Regions from separate parts of the Homo sapiens genome. Here regions 2, 3 and 4 are each linked to region 1. The links are contacts of gene promoters, found by promoter capture Hi-C in blood cells and fetal thymus (Javierre and others, 2016). All regions are on one chromosome and are shown on one strand. The core of a region is centred on a gene start or on the middle of the fragment in contact, and the rest is flanking DNA. Distances in the headings are between cores, read along the strand shown. Region 1 holds the start of GYS2 (glycogen synthase 2). Region 2 overlaps C2CD5 (C2 calcium dependent domain containing 5). Region 3 overlaps C2CD5 (C2 calcium dependent domain containing 5). Region 4 overlaps C2CD5 (C2 calcium dependent domain containing 5).

Region 1 (5,011 bases), core at 174-2,673:
TATATAATGCATTTAATTTTGAGATTATGCTGGCTCTGATTAGCCAAAAGAAGGAAGTAATATATCACATTCTGGTTATTATTTCAGATCCTTTAGATTACTGTAATAGACATGAAATAGTAAACACAAAATGAAAAATAAATGTGTTATATATCACAACACATGACATAATTTCAGATCGTTTAAATCACACAAGTCATCACTGCCATTTACCCAGCAATCAGTTGGCTTGATTCTTCAAGATCTTGAGGAACTCAGCCTTCAAAACCATGACTTTTTCTTTGCTAATGTTCCTTCAATAGTCTTGACACTTTTAAACTAGAGAGTATAAACCCACAAGGAATTGTTTTATAATTTTACAGATGTCTTTATTTTCAAAATCATTTACATTGTGGTTCTCTACCTTGCCTTCTCTTACCCAGCACAGATGAGGTTATACCTCACTCGCAAATTGTTTTATCAATTTGATTTTCTTTATTTTATAATTCCTACATAAGCATAGCATTGAAGAAAAAAATTACTTTCATTCTGAAAGGAGCACAGTATTTTGCCTTTTGAGAAGCTCCTGAATTAAAACATTAATTCCAAGCTAATTGTGAATATGAAACATTCTTAAGCATTTCATATAATTACTAACAGAATGTAGAGTTGAGGTTTCCAACTGGTTCTAATCACATATACATCTTCCTAAAATAAAATGTTTAATTATACTATTTTGCTGAGAAAAATTTTAAAACAAAAAATGTAAATATTAACTTTTTATTTCTATGTTGTCATAATATGGATTTTAAATTTTAATTTAAATGCACATTCCATGGCAATGGCTAATATTTTCAACTTTCTCCCTCTTCAACACATACACAAGTCTGTATTCATAGCCTGTTGTAATAGACAAGGTTAAATGTAGCCTAAATATATATTCCGTTTAAATGCTTTCCTCACTCACTAGCAATTGGTTATCACTAGAGAGTTATCTGTGAAATCTTACTCTACATTCCTCAGTCACCTAGTGAAGGTGTACTGATCCACCTTCAGGAGCAGTACAAACCTTTATTGGTCACTTCCCAAGCAACTTCAAAGAGCAGTAACTCCTCCACAGGAAGTTCTTCGACTTCCCACTGGGGAAGCCCACCCAGGGATGTTACAGAGAGGGATCGGCCTCGAAGCATTCTTCTTACAGTCCTCCGAGACTCCTTTGAATTCCTGTTTCAATTAGTTGTAATCCCAGGAGAAGAGAACTTACAGGCACAAAAGTTAGAGTTGGTAGAGTTACCAGGCTTTGGTAGCTTCTCTTGGGAATAAACTAGTAGCATGAAATCTTATGTGCTTCCCACAGAATTCCTGGTGGAAGGAGGAATTCTTCCTCCTCTTTCTCGTCTTTCTGGGCAGGTATTGTGAGGACGGTATCTGCCCTGTCAGTATCTACCCAAACAATCCAGAGCTGTCAACAGAAAAACCCTCTGATTCAGGACATAGGTAAGCACTTCCTGGGATAGGCAGGGCATGACCCAAGTTCAGCCTTTTAGCCCTTGTCCTTTTGACCAGACTCCTAGATTCATACAGTTACCAATGCTTATTTCATCATTTCCAAAGTGATACAATATTGGCAACTCCCCTCATTAAGTTTGCAGGCCTCCTTAGATTACATGTAGACTGATTGGGACATATTTTTATGCTTTAAATCCCTTTGGATTTCCTAAATATTCTTCTTTCTTTTGATTCCTATTTCTAGAGCTTTTAAAAAATATTCCTAGTTATTTTATTCTACACTTACAAATTGAATTTTGGTGATAGCCAGAGATCTTGAGCCCCCTTTTCTCAATTACTTTTCTTAAAACTTTCCCTATAAAAAAGCATAAATTTGAGTATGTCTTTGGGTGTAACATGAAAAAAAACATAATTTTGACTGGTCAATAATCATCAGTCAATAATTTTAATGAGGTAGTAAAAATAAATCTTTGTCATGTTTGTACATTTCCTTCAAATATTATCAAATTGATAAAGAATAATTCAGTCAATGTAAATGTTCAAACATGGGAAGAAAAATCATCAGGATCAGACTGCAGATAAATGGCATATGTTTGCTTTTCCCTTGTGTTTCTATGTTTGTAAATATATATGTTCCAATTTATTTACACACCCATACACATATATCCTATATTGTACCTACAGAGAGTTGGTGCATTCACAAGCAAGCTTAATTTTGAGCCATCTTTACAGATGTAGCTAAAATCAATATTTTTACATTATTATTCTCTAAAGCAGCAGAACTGAAGCTCATACAAAATATCCTTTAAGTTAGAATTACAATCAGAATTGTAATTTGTTACTTGATAATACTATTTTAGCACCTTTTATTAGGTTTTAAATTATTTTCTATATACTTGGTCTTATAGACTTACACTTATTTTAATGACTCAAGATGGGCAGAACCACATTTCATTATATTACATTAATAAATCTATGTAAGCCAAATAGATTAAATATGTCAGCTTGATGTGGTAGTACACACCTGTTGTTCCAGCTACTCAGGAGGCTGAGGGGGATGAATCACTTGAGCCCAGGAGTTTAAGGCCAACCTGAACAACCACTCTCTTAAAAAATAAAATAAAATAAAAAATTAATTAAAACAAAAATAAATAAATGTCATCTATGATTTTGTGACACAGTTGATTCTTATCTTTGTCCAGAAAAGTACATTTAAGTACATAGTTTGTTATCCATTTGTTTGCGTTGTGAGAAAAAGATTATATGGCTAATAAAAAAAATCAAGTACTAAAATAGAAAACATATGATCCCAAATGATCAAAATGATTGTCTCCTTTATAAAATGGTTTGCTTATGTTCACATAACCTCTGAGAGTCCTGCAAGTGCACATTCCAGTAAAACCAAATCTAAGGACATGTTGACAGGAGTGAGAATGGGATGACAGTGATAGAGTTTCACGTTTGCAGTTTTCTGTTCCAGGAGCCTTGAGATTGGTTCATCCAGTGTCACACAGGCTACAGGAGCACAATGATCCATATTCTCCAGCTTACATGATAAGGCTGAATTATTTATTTGCAATCTGTTCCAGGTATCAACTGCTTAGTTGTGAGTTAGGCACTTGTGGCATCACTTATCTGCTGTGTAAACTTGAGCCAATTTCTTACCTAAGTTTTTGTTTTCTTGATAAAATGGGGATGAGATAATCTATATAAGTCACTTAACATTGTGCCTGGTACTATGCCAACCACTTTAGTAATCTTAGCCTTTTTTATAACACATATGATGGTTTAGTAAAAGCTTTCCCTAATGGCAGAGGTTACCATTGAAAAGGAAAGGGGTAAAAAGAAGGCTTTACTTTTCTTTCATTTTTTTGAAGTTGTACCACCTGTATATATTACCTGATCAAATGCCTAGAGAAAACATTTTTTTCAGAAAAATGACCTTAAGATCAATGAGTATATTTTATAACATCCTAAATGAAAATAAGTAGGATGTAAAATAAAATAAGTAGTATGATTGATTTAATTTTGTGAAAATGTACTCTATACCTCTGTTCATGAAGTATATGTAATAGAAGGCTGGAATAGACATAAACAAAAGACGGGAGGCTACATGTAAAAACTCTTACAATAGTTGTCTTAAACTGGTTGTAATTATGATTGATATTTGTGTGGTATTTTTATTTGTGTTCTACACATTTTCTGCAATAAACGTATACATATATATATATATATATATATATATATATATATATACCGTATATAGGATGAGTAACACAGTTTTCAAAAGTTTAATCATATAAATGAATTAAATACACATGATTGTTTCACACACTCACACTCATTATTCTGATTTTTCGAAATTTCTAGTCTTTAGTTCCCATTTGGCGTTTTTGTGTCAAGTACCAGCACTCTCAGCCACACGTCATCTCCTAATGATCCCTCATAGTAGACTTATTCTCTTGATCCTGTTATTCTCAACATGAGAACATCCTTTGCCAATGCTTTGCTTGTTTATGGTAAATATCATTTTCAAAGTTGTTCATTGGGTTAAGAGAGGTAAAATAAATGGAACCATATGAAGTATATCCATGAGATGGATATATCTTCATCTATCCATAGTATCTGGATGAATTCCCTTTGTTCAGGTATTTGTGCAGAGAAAGGCAGTCATTTGTGCAAAAAGATTTGAAGAGGAATCAGGGAAATTTCTCTTCCTCCCATATCCCTGAACATTCTCCTATAATGTTTGTGCTAAAAGCACAAATTGATGAGATGAGAGCAGAAAGAGAACAGTCATCCAGACAGAAAGGGAGATGGGTTTTCTCCAAGTTGGGAGAAGCACTCACAAAAGTCCCTGATACCAAATTTTATACTTATGCTAACATTTTATCACCCAATGAAAAGAAGTGAGAGGGCAAGTAGGAACAAATGAAGACTTGTATTTGGTTCCCTTGGTAAGTATTCCAGCAGAGGTCACTAAATACATTTAGAAAACCACACATTTGCTTTGACTTTTTGGAATCTTCTTAGAAGTCTTCCAAAAAGCCTTTAGACTTCCAAGGCTTGACTTGCCTGCAGCTGCATATCCAGAATAACTTAGTTAACATATTTATGGATCACCTACTATGTGCTACTATTCTCATCACTGAGAATATTTTCGATAAACGGTAGATAAGTCTTTGCCTCCATGTGGACACATAGACATTAATCTTGTAAACAAATTATGTTATTTCAGGTTCTGCTAAATTTCTGGAGAAGAAAAACTGCAAACAATAGTGAGTGCTATTGGATAGAAATGAGTGCTTTAGGTGGGGAGGTCAAGAAAGACCCTTGTGAGGAAGTGATATTTGAATTAGGATATAAATGATGAGAAAGTGGCCACATTTGAAGATCTGAGAGAAGTGATTGCAAAGCCTTTAACTCTTACAGAAACAGAAAGAAGACCAATGTGGCTGAAGCCAAAAGCATAATGAATGAGGGGAAGCCTGGAGGGGATGAGGTCAGAGGAAAGTAGGAAATG
Region 2 (5,690 bases), core at 1,590-4,089, 900 kb after region 1:
TGCAGTGGCACGATCTCAGCTCACTACAACCTCCGCCTCCCGGTTTCAAGCAATTCTCCTGTCTCAGCCTCCCGAGTAGCTGGGACTACAGGCGCCTGCCACCAGGCCCAGCTAATTTTTGTATTTTTAGTAGAGACAGGGTTTCACCTTGTTGGTCAGGCTGGTCTCAAAACTCCTGACCTCAGATGATCCACCCGCCTCAAACTGGCTTCCCAAAGTGTTGGGATTACAGGCGTGAGCCTCCGTGCCCAGCCCAAAATGTTTTTCAGTAAGCAGAAGACATCTAGTAATTAAATATACTCCTGAAACCATGTTTCGAACTATCAGATCAGTGGGTGCCATCTATTAAAATATTTGAGTCAATGGTCCATAGAAACACAGGTAACTAGCCTTGGGTCACAAGGGTGATGTCAGGTATTTTAACTCAGTATTTCCTTGCATTTTCCAAATAATTCAAGTTCCTTAACACAAAGATATAGAATTTGGCATAGTCTTCAAGATCCCAATACATTAAACTGGCATCAGTCTGAATTTTTCTTAAGTACTGTACACAAATACTACAATGGAGAAAACATCTTATATTGACCACAAAAATAAGAAACGGGGGGAAAAAAAACTAAAGAAGGGGAAAAAAAGAGAAAACCAGTGCTTAGAAGATGCATTTGCCCAGTTTTAGAGTTAAATAATCCTGACTCGCACTGTTTTTCTGAAATCTCATTCAGGGTCCAGAGAATTCTAGTCTTCTTCTCTGAAATAAACTCAAATGACATCAAACTACAGGGCATAAATTAAACTTTAAAAAAATTTTAAAAAATAGTAATGCTCTGTATCCTCAAAAATAGTCATTATCTACAATATTTTGGTCCAATAACTTCAAAGCATTTTTACCCTTCTTTCTTTCTTTTTTTTTTTTTTTTTTTTGAGACAGAGTTTCGCTCTTGTCGCCCAGGCTGGAGTGTAGTGGCACAATCTCGGCTCACTGCAACCTCCACCTCCCGGGTTCAAGCAATTCTCTGCCTCAGCTTCCCAAGTAGCTGGGATTACAGGTGCCTGCCACCACGCTCAGCTGATTTTTGTATTTTTAGTATTTTACAGGCATGAGCCACTGTGTCCGGCCACCCTTCTTTTTATAGCTGTCAATACAAGCCTCACAAAGAGGTCACTGGATGTGACAATTTAAAATTTTCAAAAATATATACGTCTATACACCAAATAAGAATACTAATATAACTTCAGGTTTAATGTATGTTGATTGAGCATCTAGTCAATGAGAGATGCAAGAACACATTCCATATGGAAAGTTCCCACTATTCATCATGCTTATTTTAGACGTAGAAAAATCACCAGAGGATTTCTGATCAAAGGGCCTGAATCCAGTGGGACTTTGATGCCTACTCGCTTTTATAATTATGGTCCTATGTTTTAAAGAAGTAAGCTACTATTCTTACTCGTTTGCTTAAACATAACAAATAGCTACATAAAAGAAACTGAAGGACCAGATGTTAGTTTGCTCATCTGTTTTTCAATTCTTAGCTACTCTAGACAACGCCTACAATTACTTTGTTGCCCATGCTGGATTCCACCAATGACAGAGTGGAATCCCAGCACAGTGCTGGGATCTGGGTTCTGTGTCTCCTGAGTGCTGCCTGGGTAGACTGGAGGGGACAGGTGGCCGTGGTCAAAGACAGTCCCAGTGTGTTCAAGTTACACAATGAGCTCTAAGAAATGACAGCTCCAGTAGCCTGCTCAGCAAGAGGGTCTTTGACCCATGGACTGGTTTGGTTCCCTCTGCTACCTATCTGTTCCTATGACACCCACAGTGTTTACATAGGTCTTGTTGTGTTGCCCAGGTTGTTGCCCAAGTCTGGCTATGTTGCCCTGGGCTCAAGCGATCCTCCTTGCCCCGGCCTCCTGAGTAGCTGGGACAACAGGCACATGCTACTGTGCCCAGCTTTACAATTACATTTTTAAAAATACCTGTTTTAAGAACAAGGAAAATAAGTAATCTATAAAAAGCTACTGCTAATGAAAAGAACTAACATCTTAAACTAATGGCCATAATGGTCAATTTATAAAAATGTTTATCTCCCCTGGGTCAAAGAAAAGTTATTTAAGGATTTCCTTAAAGTGATATTGTGACCAAAAATAAATCAATTGGTTTTTTACAGAAAAGTAACTAAAATACACTTAGTTTATTTATAATTAAGATGACTACAAATATATTAAAGTAACGTGCTAGTTTATACTTTCTTTTCATTTCTCTTTTCAGTTAGATTTGGCTTTAAAAAAATCATAAAAATCAATTTTAATAACCACAATTTAAATAAAGGAAACATTGAAACTTTTTAAGAACATACCAGGATTGTGGATACGATCCAAAAGCTTCACAGAACGTGCACTAACTACACCCCCAACGTGTACAAGGAATCCAGGAGGAAATGCCGTCAAGGTAAAAAATGGAAATTCCTAGTGGAAAGAATAAGGGAAAAATACAACTTATCGTGTGTAGAGTGTAAAAAATTTGCTTATTAAAAAGCTTGCCATAGCAACTGTATTACATCCCTTGAAATAAAAGGCCACCCATTACACATCACACATGCTTTGTAATTAAAAGTTTAATTAAATGTTTAGAGTTTCAAATCCATTTCCCCATATATACAATGTTATACAGAATCCAAAGACCCATTTCATCAGTTCTCAATGAAGAAAAAAAAAGTGTTCCTTCAATTTAAGATATTTGAAACACACTCTTCCTTCCTCTGAATCTCCAACTCTGATGGAACTTCTCAATGAGATGAGGGAACTGCCCTATCCCTCTTCCCCTTTATCTATCAGTGGTTTAGACACCCCCTTCACATGAACACCCAGTATAAGACACTGGTAAAGACTCTAAAAACCTGGGGCCAAGGGATCTAAATGAAAGTGGGACCAAAGGAGGATAAGTGAGAGGATAAGCAGTGTGGGTTAAGAGAAAGAGGATAGTGGCAAATATCAAGTTGAGATGGGTAGAGAATCATTGTGTGAGGTTACTCTATCAACACCAATGTGGCAGGAACAAATACAAGTGCATAAAGGTACATTAAGGAAAGTTGAAAGGTACATAGATAACAGCTAGGAAGGCAATAAAATTCCACAAGTTCTTGCAAGCTTTATTCTATCCTTCTCTCTTAAAGAATAAAATTCATCAACTTAGAGACAAAGAGAAACACAAAAAAGACAAATGAAAAAGCCAAGAAAGGAAATTCATTGAAATAGGACCCAATAAGAAAACGGAGCTCCTGTGAAAACATGGAGGCCCCTCACATTACACAAATTGGATGCAAGTAAGGAAAACTTGATGTTTGACCTGTCTGGCTGCAAGATTAATGTAGCTCACTTAACTGGAATCACTTACCAGTAGCCTCAGCTATTTAGAACATAATTGAGCATAATTGAGAAAAATAAGCAAAACAGGGCTCTCAACGGTCAAAAGAACTGTTACGGTCTCAAGCTCTAAAGCTCATATACTTTATTCATAGGAGACTCCCACAGATCATATTCATACTATATTATAGTAGTTATAAATTTTTATCTTAAAAAGAAACAACTCTAAAATTTATCATGATCTCATTTTCAAGACCACCTCAGATTAAATGCAACAAATAAAAGCTGGTAAAGAGATACAGAATACCACCAGAAGCAGGCTTATTAAAAGCAGCAAGAATTATTCACTGGCTGCTTCAAGCATGGAGAATACAAACTCACAAAAGCATGATCACAAAGCACGGCAACTTGGAATCATTTTGCACAAAAGCTATCAGTCCTGTGCACCTCAGTAACCCATGAAGGTTGAGTATAAAAAAGTTTCTAAAATTTATTTAGAAATAAATTCAGTTCAAATTTAGAAGTAATCTTTAAACAAGAGAAAGAAAAATCTATGCTATGTAAGAAAAGAGTAAAAAACTGGTCTATGGAAGTGGTTAGGTATAGCCCAGCAGAAAGGTAGAGGGAAAATAAGGAAGAGGATGGAAGGAGAGTACGTCACTTATAATAAATGTATTATAATATGTTTAGTCAAAATGCATCCTTATTTCCATTTAAACTTCTTTTTCTGTCCTCTAAGTTTTGTTCCTGGAAATCTAATAAAAATTGTACAAACTAGAGGATTACCTCATAATGAATTCATATTTATTATTAGGAAATTTGAATGTAAATGAAGTTTTGAGTCATAAAAATATTCGAATGGATTTATTGTTAGGCACAGCACACACGGGGTAATTACACAATATAAGTATTAAGAAAGAAGTTGGGAAAACAGTTCGGTAATCACTGAGCAAGTACATTTGAACTTTGTAAATGTGAGTTTTAAATGAGAAACGTATAGGTAAGCTTATATTATTAATAATGTAGTTAGGTCTTTCAGATTTTTTTTTCAGTGTTAGGATCACTTAAATTTTAATATTTCCTCAAAATATCTGAGGCATGTGGTGGTCTCACAGAATAAAAAATCACTTTATATGTAATCTTTATACTTAAATCTTTTTTTTTTTTTTTTGAGACGGAGTCTCGCTCTGTCGCCCAGGCCAGACTGCGGACTGCAGTGGCGCAATCTCGGCTCACTGCAAGCTCCGCTTCCCGGGTTCACGCCATTCTCCTGCCTCAGCCTCCCGAGTAGCTGGGACTACAGGCGCCCGCCACCGCGCCCGGCTAATTTTTTGTATTTTTTTAGTAGAGACGGGGTTTCACCTTGTTAGCCAGGATGGTCTCGATCTCCTGACCTCATGATCCACCCGCCTCGGCCTCCCAAAGTGCTGGGATTACAGGCGTGAGCCACCGCGCCCAGCCTTAAATCTTTTAAATATCTAGACAAGAGATACTGAAAATAACATTTTTGTAAGCTAAATGGAAGATAGTACTTCCTTTTTCCTTCTAAAGAAATAGGTAAATTATGTATTAGAAAATATTTTCATATAAGATTTTACATAAGTATGAATAAATGAACCTAAATGACTTCTCAATTCAGGGTTCTTTACCCTTCTCCCCAAAGTTCTTTGTTTGGGATAAAGAAACGAGGGCAAGCATTGTACTAGAGCTGGTCAGAAAGAAACACACAGGGCGATGGCTGCCCATTGAGGCCACGACCCACTCTCCACCTCACATGTCCCCAGTTCACCTAATCGGCACACCAATTCACTCTAAAACACAAAATTTAACCTATAATAAATAAAAATGTCATTGTTATTTAACCAAAACTCCGTCTTCATACAATTCTCTCATGAGAAGAGCTACTGCTGAAATCTATAGCAGATTGTTAAGTACCTATCATCACCACCATAACTAGCAACTACTGTCAAGTACTTCTATGTGCCAGGCCCTGTAGCTTGTGCTGTATAACCTTTCCCATATGAGGGAAGTACTATTATCTCCATTTTTTATATGAAAAACTGAAGTCAAAAGGGCCTTTTATTCCTAGATTCTTTATAAGCAACAAACTTTATCATCTGGTTTCACTGTCATTTAGAGTTAAGGATTTGATTTTATTACACCTGATGAATTTATAGATTTTTCTTCTGTTTAAAAGAATAGCTTCTGCCGGGCACAGTGGCTCACGCCTGTAATCCCAGCACTTTGGGAGGCTGAGGTAGGTGGATCACCTGAGGTTAGGAGTTCAAGACCAGCCTGGTCAACATACTGAAACCCCGTCTCTACTA
Region 3 (5,138 bases), core at 1,833-4,332, 850 kb after region 1:
GCTTAGGAAATACAATTTTATGGATTCAAAATAGTGTAATATCCATGTGCTACCAAGAGCAAGTAGAAAAGGTTAATTCATAATATATGCCAGCTTTTCGCACCAAATCTTTGTCAAATTTAAATGGATGTAGAAGTATCATCTATTTTAATTCTCTATCCAAAGGCTTTTGAGAATATCTTCATAGTTTATTTTTCATCTTAACGTAATTAAGAGTGATATAAAAACTAATTTATCTTTTTTGGGGGGAAGGATAGAGTCTCACTCTGTCACCCAGGCTGGAGTGCAATGGCGCAATCTCGGCTCACTGCAACCTCCACCTCTCAGGTTCAAGCAATTCTCGTGCCTCAGCCTCCTGAGTAGCTAGGATTACAGGCATGTGCCACCATGCCCGGCTAATTTTTGTATTTATAGTAGAGAAGGGGTTTCGTCATGTTGGTCAGGCTGGTCTCAAACTGCTGGCCTCAAGCAATCTACCCGCCTCAGCCTCCCAAAGTGGTGAGAATATAGGCGTGAGCCACTGTGCCTGGCCTAATTTACCTTAAAGAAAACATCCATCTAATTAATTAAATAATCTGTCAGAAGCTATTCATTTATTTGCACAAAAACATATTGTGTTTATTCCATGCCAGCTACTGTGCTAGGCGCAGGATGGTGAGTATGATATTAAAGACAGTGTGCAGGCTGTTATTCCTAAGAAAGTATAGAAATACTGCTGGTGAAGAAGGGCACAGCTAAGTCATCTTTATAATGAATATACTTTTTAAAAATACAAACTGCAGCTGAAGTAAAATTTGAAAAGGTTATTGGATGTCACACCTCAGTAACTAAAAAATTTCCCTATTCACCATATTAATTTGCTTGGTAGCCCCTGTTCCTTAACATATGACACAACGTAATTTTTTTAAGTTTAAATTCCTGTGTTATAAAAGATATAACAGGCTGACTCTGATTCTGAACTTTTCCCACATCAAGTAAAATATTACAACTTGTTATTTAAAAACCAAATTAAAGTTTAATGATACTCAGTGTGAGGTAAGACTGAAGAAATGTCATCCTCATACACTAACTGAGAGAGTAAAAAATGAGCAGCTTCATTCCTTTCTCAGGAGGAAGAAACAGCAGAGCTAAATTACATAAAGTATCTCCTTAGACATGTATCTGTAATACAGTCCTCTACTATTTCTAAATGTGATCTGTCAAAAATTGCTAAATTACTGAGGAAACGAAGCTGTTCTTTCAGGGCTATTTTAAACTTCTATTTGAACACAGATATTTGTTTTATTTACTATATGATAAGGTTCTAAGATTTCTAACAATAAATAGGTTTAAAACTAACACAATTCTTGTGATAATCCTCGCTGCTAAATGAAATAAACTCTAGACTCAATCCAGATAATTAAAATATAAATAAATATTTGTAAGTTTTTGGCAAAAAATAACAATTTGAAACTTAGTTTTGTTACTAAATCTTCAGAGAAAATTTTTTAAAAAATGAAATAACTTCTATAAAATTACCTCCCGAAGAGAAGTAGTCTCTCGAATAAAAAACATGTTAATTATCCCAAGATACTTAGTTATTTTTGCTCCAGGAATAAAAGAAAGAGGTGTCATCTTAACAACCCCAACTGTGGAATTTGCACAAGGTGGAGCAGAACGATTCCGGAAATTTCCATCACCCACTGGACTTGCTTTTTCAACTGTCATGGCTAAAATTGGAGAAAAATGAGAAAACATTCAGAACAGACGCTGGTAACACAATTATTCCCTGAGGTTTCCAAATAAGTGGTGACAACATTCAGCTGTCTGTGAGGCTAAGCCATGTCATGAAAGAAAAGAAATTATCATGCACTGCATGCAATTAAAAAAGAGAGACAGAAAAACATGAGAGGAAATGCTGGAATGGAATTCTTTTGGAAGAAAAATGGCATTCCTGCAAAAGAAAATGTTGATGCAGTATAGCTACACACACAATGATTGGTTATAAAGTGAAGAAAAAGAAAAAGCGGCTGAGCATTAAAATTATCTGCTGTAGGAACAAATTATTACAAGGAGAGTGTGAAAGTTGTTCTATTTCCCAGTGCAATTTTTCCATCTTTTTCAGACGACTTCATCATTGTCAACTTGTAGATAAACCTTATGTTATCTAGTTGTAAGATACTGGTTTTTTCCAAACCTTTTTGAAAACCAACTCATAATTTTAAAAGCTTAACGACCTCTGCTAGCTAAAAGTTGGTTGTTTATAAAGTAAAAAAATAATAGCTACCACTTATTAAATAACTGCCATAAGCCAGACATATATATATATATCTAATCCTTACAACCACCCAAAAACACAGGTTATCATCATCATCCCCATTTCATGCATGAGGAAATGGAAGGTTAGAGAAGTTAAGTAACTTGCCCAAGGTCTCATAGCTATTAAAATGGCACTTCTAGGATTCAGAACCAGATCTGGCTGGTTTCACATCCTATATTATTTCCTGTGAAATGTAGTTTTTTCCCCCTTTTAATGTACGGTAAGCTCTTTCACTCAAATATATTTACCTCAAAATTTACCAAAACACATGGCATAAGATAACATATAAGTAATGATTCTGATTCTAGCAGTAAGGTAATAACTACTTTCTCACCATAAATTCTTTATTAGTTTAGCCCTCTGCATATCACACTTAATAAACCGACAGATGCCACATACTAAATAGTACCTTGGGTCCTGGAAGAATGTCTTTTCAATAAGAGAGTTGGCAATTTACTTCCAATTAGAATGATATAATATCTATTTATATACTTTTAAGAATACCTGCACAAAAAGGAAAATTTTAAAAACACAATTCTATAGGTAAAACTAATAAATCTAAAGGCCTTTCAAAAGCTTTTCCTAAATGACCGTTACAGTCTGCAGCTTTCACACTCTAATACATGATGGATTGGCAATGTTATTACTGGGTAGTAAGGTCTAGCTTTCACCACTGGGAAATCAGGGATATGTTTCTCAGATTATCATAATGTGGTAGAAACATCCGCCTACTTGTCTTAATTGATCCACGCCTTATGGTCTGAGCTTTCAGTTTAATGAGCTCTATCCAGCTGCTGCATCTGTCTGCAAAGGAACTGTAATCAACTGACGTTGCTGAAAACACAGACAGAAAACAAAAGAAAAAAACAAAGAAAAAAATATGGATGATGTCTCTTACTCGTCTTAACACTCCTTTCGATGATGTAATTTAACTGTAACTCAGAAAAAGAATGGTCCTTTTCAAGTCAGATAAGAGAGATAGTAAAGAGTCAAGCTTTAGACACTGATTTGTCCAAAACCAAGTTCTCAGTTAGCAGGCTGAGCATTTCTGGTGATGTCATAGTTGTGTGGTCTCCTAGGGAGAGCCTGAGTGGGGTCTAACATAAATATCAATGAAAGGACCACATACTGTGCTTTAACTAACTTTATTTCCTATTCTTCTTAATTTACAATATTTCAGTTGTTTCTATTTTATTTTATAATCAAAGCTTTGTGAATAATTCATTTCCCTAGTTTTACCCTAAAATTTTAAAAAAAGAGAATCAAATGTTGAAGAATATATTTTTAAAAGTTAGTAGTTGACTTATCTGTTATTAAAGTATCTTCTTTCTACAATCAGTAAGAGGAAAACCAAAGGGCCATTTTTGTTAATGTTTTGTTTCCATGTCTGATTTTGGGCAACAAAGCCTCTGATAATATGGGGTCAGGGCAGGTGTGAGCCTCACAAGTTCCCCCTTTTAAAAACAATAACTTTTACTACTGCTAAGCTGGAAAAAAAATTTTAAGGAGCTAAAATTTTATGCTTAGAAACTGGGAAACCATTAACATACTAAAAAATTTAAATATTAGTTTAATTGATGCTTTTAAAAGAACATATTCTACCTACAAAAAAAAAAAAGCCAGATTTTGGTGTCTATTCCATATTGTCCAGTGCATTTTCTTCAATGTCTATAATTTTATGCACCACCAAACTAGAATTTTACACCTTTGGTGACTATTTGCTTAATTAGACAAACTCACCTCTCTGTGCAGCTGGTATACCTGAGTTAGAACTTGCACTCTCCAGGTGTTCTAATAAGACAATATGAACAACATTAGCTCAGATGCTAAGTACAAGCCAGTACCTCTTCTTTGTTATTTGTTAATACCTCTATAAGCCAGAAGAATAGGAGGAAATCTTTATGGCTTCATTGCAAAAGCAAACCAAATAAAAGCATCTAGGTTTAAAATGCAGTTTCTATTGATAAATGAAAACTAGCTCAGTTCATAAATACCATGCCAAAGGAGACTACTTGCTTACTGTAACACAAAAAGAGTTTCAGAAACTTTATAGTCACAAGAAAATATAAACATAGTAACGAATGTGAGTATGATGAAAGCAGGATGTGAGACTAGGCAGAGAAAAGGGTCAATGTGTTGGGAAGAATATCTGAAATGAAACATGGAAGGAAAATGTTTGCTGTGGGGAAGAGTCTATAAGATTACAAATTACAGACAAGATAATGATTATGCTTCACAGATCAGCATAAGCTGCTCCCTAGTCTTAACTCTCACCACCAACTTCTTCATTCGAAGACTTCGATATCAACAGCTCCCTCTGGTGGTATCAAGACTTTGTGAAACTAAAAAATGAGTGATCACAGAGGTAACCAGGAATCCCAAGCCAGTATCACTCCCTTTCCAGTAACCTGACAGTAGCATCCAGAATTTTCCCTGATATTTTTTATTACAGGTATTTAAGGTATTGTACAAATTTAAATAGCACTATAAAAAAACTTCATAACCTATTTTTAATGCTCATGTTCTACCCACATTAGAATATTTAAATTTTTGTTTGAAAGAATTTTACAACTAAAAGAATAGTCCTGCCAATTTAGAAATAACTCATGAAAAGCACTGAGAATAATTCGGTTGGCTTAGTATAGTATAGTTTAAGTATAGATAGATAAATATGTTTTTTCATTTCTACTTAGTGTGTTGATTTTTTGGTAACATTCTTAAATTAATAAAAAAACTTTTCAAAACATTATTTGTACAGAATGTTTCTACCATAGAATGTTGCTGCTAATTGAAAATACAATGCAAGTATCTCACCACACCCCACCAACACAATTTTTTT
Region 4 (4,994 bases), core at 105-2,604, 870 kb after region 1:
ACAGGACACTACAATGTGTATGGAATTGGCAGTCCTTACAGCTCTGAAATCCAGTACTGCTGTGTGTGCATATTTTCTATTCAGCATTATAAAAGTCCTAATAGGCCTTAAAAATTTAAAGACTTATGTTCCTAGAAAGAATTCTAATCTTTTATATATTTTCTTATCCACTTTCAAAGCTCCATATAGCAAAATGTGAAATATGATCAATGTATGAGTATGAATACATATATACTTATACTATGCACATATTTGCTATTCAATTTATTAAGCTAAATAAACATTGGTACTTACAATAATGATCTTTTTAAGGTCAGTGTATGGTGCAATACTGTATGGCTTAGTGAGCTTTTTGCTGTTACATAGCCAAAGATCACTAGGGGTTCTAAGTGTCTGTCGGCCACAAGGAATGCTGGAAGAATATGAATACGTGAACGCAAAAGCAAAAGCCATAGCCTATTGCTGATGCAACAGAATTGTCTTTTTAATAAACAAGGAAATTGTACATAAAATTTTTCAAAAATATATAGTTTTAAATGTTCATTGGTAGTATGCACCTTAGATAAAAGACTACCACTGCACAATTTCATAATGTAATGATCTATGGAGCACTTTCACATCAATTTATCTTATTTGTACTCCAAATTAATCTGCCCTCTATAAAGTTAACATTATAATAACTACAAAATGGAAAAGAGCTGTAATTCAGAAGTAAATTAGTAGTCTGCCTAAATTTGGAAAACTAGCAAGTGTAGAGCCAGTCTAGGTCAGTCTTTTGACACACAGTGCAACGTTATTCCCACTAGATACCACACTACTTTTTATAATTTTACAATAGTTTTAAATTCTGTTATGCCTTTGTTCACAATGCCACAGACTTAACAAATATAACTGTCTGGTATTTAATATGTTCTAGATTCATACTGAAATTTCATCACTAGTACTGTTATTCTGAGAGATGTGCATCTTATTTTGATACCTTTGATTATCTCCATAAAGCTTAAGTGGTACTACACCTTTGTATTAGAAACATTTTTTAATGTATTGACAAAAAATTTAAACAGCAGCATTTATTTCAGTGAGGGCTATCATCCTAAGAGAAGGAACACTCTGATCTACATATTCAGGGTGGACATAACACAACACTGTAATGTGTATAGTGGCCTGGTAATCAACCTTGTACACTGACTCTGTCAAAAAAAATGCTGAGAGATTATGCTAAAAGACTATAATGTAGTCAGTATCTACAATAAGGAAAGACATATTAGAAGATGCATAAACTGATGAGTACTGTTGTGAAAATACAGTCATCCTCAACACATGAAATTCATATATGTTAAAATTTTTAAAATCATAATAGATTTACTCCCTCCTTCCAAATGTAAACTGTATGACACATAGTAGCAGCTCAATAAGTACTGAATGGATGAAGTAACTTAATTCATAGTCTTATTTAAACACATCCCTGTCTCCAAAGGGCTTACATTATAGTAAAGGAAGACAGATATATAAAAACTAAGTACAATAATATGTAACAGTTTCTATACAAGTACATACAGGTACAACAAGTACACAATGGAGGAAGAGTCCATTCTTCCTGTTAGAGGTCAGGATGGATTTACAGAGGTGAGAAACACTATTAAGTAAGTAAAAAAGTTCAGCTCATATCATTAGAAATAATAAATGAAGAATATATGAAACCCTAACACAAAGCTTTACAAATCATTTTTCCCAAGTGGCATACTATAAACAGATGTTCAAATATCAAAATATAACTACCAAATAAAAATAATGTACTATAAAAATAAGCAGTCAGTAGAGTGGTGCACAGAGAACTTTTACAAAGTCTATTTTTCAAATATGAATATGTTAACACATCAACATTTGCATTCATTTTAAAGAAGCCCTAAGTCAGTATTGTTCAATAGAAATATAAAGCAAGCCACATACATAATAAAGTAAAAAGAAACAGATAAAATCCATTTTAATAAAACATTTTATTTCATTCAGTATATCCAAAATATTAAATTTTTGACACAAAATCAATACAAAAATATTCATATTTTACACTACTTTTTCACAGTAAATCTTTAAAATCCAGTGTATATTTTATACTTACTACACATTTCAATTCAGACTAGTCACAAGTCCTCAAAAGTCACATGTGGCCAGCGGCTACCACAGTGAATAATGAATAGTGCAGCTGTAGGTCATAACCTTAAAATTCCTCCCAAATTAACAACTATGCTAGAATAATATGATGAAAGCTATACATGTGACGCAACAATCCAGACACACTGTTCCAGAAGACCAGCCAAAATTAGATAAGACGTTTAAAATAATAAAAGCAATAATGTTATACTTTCTTTTTTTATTTTTTTAATTATACTTTAAGTTTTAGGGTACATGTGCACAATGTGCAGGTTTGTTACATATGTATACGTGTGAATGTTATACTTTCCTTTTGTGAAAGTCTTTCATTATCAGAGACTCATAAAAACAAATAGTTTCATTCTAATTCCAACCCATTTTTCTTTCAATTCAGACTCTTGCCATCAGTCATCCACAGAGGAGGCAGCATTGTGATACTTATTGCAAAGTTGGTAAAAAGACTGATTAAAGGAAATGACTGGGAGCAAATTTGTAAAAAAAGAAACTGTAACTGAAAAACTATATTCTTTCACATTTTTACCACCAATAAGAATCTCTTTTTACTAACAAAGAACATTTTAAACCATTTATTTCATCATTCAACAAATACTAAGAGACTACCACCAATAGGAACTTTTCTAGGCAATAGAAACAAAGCCCTCATGAAGCTTCATTCTACCAGTACTAACAGGCAAAAGACCAACAAAACACACACACTCACACACACACACACACTCACACACACACACACTCACAAAGATAAGAGCTATAGAAAACAATAAAAGAGGGAAAAGTCATAGGAAGTGGCAAAAATGAAGTCACAATTTTTAAATAGGATCGTTAGAGTAGGCTTACCCGAAAAGGAGACAGTTGAGCAAAGACATAAAGGGAGGTGAAAGAATGAGTAATAAGGAGAGCTAAACAGTGAAAAAAAAATCTTGTGTCCTCAATAAGATAACCTAAAAATATACTAATAAACAATAACTGATACATTCACAATGTAGGTTTGTTTTACTTACTGGAGGATTGATTTCATATAACTCTTTGTTTTTAGCAATTGTGTCATTTATCTTCTTCTGCATATGAGAGATGTGTTGTTCATATGAGCCATCATTAGGAGTCTTCCCAGCAATCTGAATACCACCAGGAGTTGGTAAAGCTGCTAAATACACACCTGTGGCAGACTTGTAAAAAATAATGGGGAAATAATCAGAAAAAATATCTACAGAATAACAGTCCTTAAGTTTTCATATTTAAGAATGTGGTCAACAGCTGGGTGCAGTGGCTCACACCTGTAATCCCAGTACTTTGGGAGGCCAAGGCGGGCAGATCACTTGAGGTCAGGAGTTTGAGACCAGCCTGGCCAACAAGGTGAAACCCCGTCTCTCCTAAAAATACAAAAATTAGCCAGGTGTAGTGGTGTGTGCCCATAATCCCTGCTACTCAGGAGGGTGAGGCAGGACAATCACTTGAACCCGGGAGGCAGAGGTTGCAGTGAGTCAGGATCATGCCTCTGCACTCCAGCCTGGGCAACAGAGCAAGACTCTGTCTCAAAAAAAAGAAAAAAAGGGAAAAAAAAACAAGAATGTGATCTTTGCTCATTAGGAAGAATATAATCAGCATCAGGGTATACATAGGACATCTCTGGAAAGGCACACAAAAACAACTGGTAATAAGCGTTGGTTTCTTTTGGGGAGGACCCTGGGTAGGTGGGAGACAGTTACGAAATGCGGATTTACTTTTCACTGCATACCCAATTATATTTTTTATGTTTCTACCTCACAATTTTTTTTTTTTTGAGACGAAGTCCCACGCTTTCACCCAGGCTGGAGTGTAGTGGCGTGATCTCGGCTCACTGCAACCTCCAACTCCTGGGTTCAAGCGATTCTTCTGCCTCAGCCTCCTGAGTAGCTAGGATTACAGGTGCCCACCACCACACTCAGCTAATTTTTGTATTTTTAGTAGAGATGGGTTTTCATCATGTTGGCCAGGCTGGTCTCCAACTCCTGACCTCAATTGATCCGCCTGCCTTGGCCTCCTAAAGTGCTGGGATTACGGGCCTGAGTCACTGGGCCCGGACCTACCTCATAATTTAAAAAAATATATAATTAGAATTAAAAATAGCAAAAAAAAAATTAAAGGTTGCTAAAAAATAAATTTTTCATGAATGAGCAGATGCTCTATCTTTAAAGGTGGCAAAAGTGAAGAGGAAACTTTTGCAAGGCAAGAGACTGAAATTCAGAAAGGACAGGGAACTTTCTCAAGCCAAGTCAATAAATGTGGACAAACGATCTGAACTGAGTGTTTCTCACTCTAAAACCCAAACGCATTTCACTATATTGCCCTACCTTCCTAATTAGCAGAGAAAAGTGTTTATTAGATACAGATTTATTTTAAATATCTAATTAAATTACTATTTAATATCTGACTCTGAAACAGTACTATATTTCATTAGTACTGGAAAACTATCATGGGAAATACAAAACAAGGTAACATTTATATATATCCTTATGAGCACTTATGTGTAAATATGCTAATATAAGCAAAGCAAAAAAAATAGAAGCATAAACATCAAATTGTTAACATCAAAGGAGTGGAATGGGAAACAGAAAAGAATTCTTTTAACTCTAGATATTTGTTATTATTATTTTTTAAATTAATCAACTGCCAATTTTGTGAACACCAATCCTAAAAAGGGATTGATGAAGAAATCTGCATAGTAGATAAAATTGTTCCTCAAGAGTGCTTACTCCTGGTTTGTTCATTAGTGTCCATCACTGTATACATGACCCAATCTCTAATATTCAACCAGGGAACCCCCTTCTCTATGCCATATGAAGCCT

What was found. The method cuts DNA at HindIII sites, captures the fragments that hold promoters and counts their contacts. A CHiCAGO score of 5 or more calls a contact.
Region 2: a contact is called between a fragment that was not itself captured here and the fragment with the promoter of GYS2 in region 1, in 1 of 17 cell types (total CD4 T cells). The highest score is 5.1, in total CD4 T cells.
Region 3: a contact is called between a fragment that was not itself captured here and the fragment with the promoter of GYS2 in region 1, in 3 of 17 cell types (total CD4 T cells, non-activated CD4 T cells and naive CD4 T cells). The highest score is 10.0, in total CD4 T cells.
Region 4: a contact is called between a fragment that was not itself captured here and the fragment with the promoter of GYS2 in region 1, in 2 of 17 cell types (non-activated CD4 T cells and naive CD4 T cells). The highest score is 7.9, in non-activated CD4 T cells.

Annotation. Positions count from the first base shown.
Region 1 is chr12:21,603,424-21,608,434 of GRCh38, forward strand. GYS2 (glycogen synthase 2) reads right to left here and starts at 1,424. Exons shown (of 16, transcript NM_021957.4): 1 at 1,049-1,424. The coding sequence starts at 1,169. The HindIII fragment of the contact is 12,472 bases long and covers 1-2,194 here.
Region 2 is chr12:22,504,354-22,510,043 of GRCh38, forward strand. C2CD5 (C2 calcium dependent domain containing 5) reads right to left here. Exons shown (of 27, transcript NM_001286176.2): 10 at 2,358-2,466. Among named protein-coding and RNA genes, the nearest start is that of C2CD5, 37 kb to the right of the region's middle. RefSeq lists a silencer at 1,582-1,876. The HindIII fragment of the contact is 611 bases long and covers 2,535-3,145 here.
Region 3 is chr12:22,455,453-22,460,590 of GRCh38, forward strand. C2CD5 (C2 calcium dependent domain containing 5) reads right to left here. Exons shown (of 27, transcript NM_001286176.2): 23 at 4,040-4,090; 24 at 3,032-3,133; 25 at 1,519-1,709. Among named protein-coding and RNA genes, the nearest start is that of C2CD5, 87 kb to the right of the region's middle. The HindIII fragment of the contact is 418 bases long and covers 2,874-3,291 here.
Region 4 is chr12:22,475,143-22,480,136 of GRCh38, forward strand. C2CD5 (C2 calcium dependent domain containing 5) reads right to left here. Exons shown (of 27, transcript NM_001286176.2): 15 at 3,171-3,335. Among named protein-coding and RNA genes, the nearest start is that of C2CD5, 67 kb to the right of the region's middle. The HindIII fragment of the contact is 714 bases long and covers 998-1,711 here.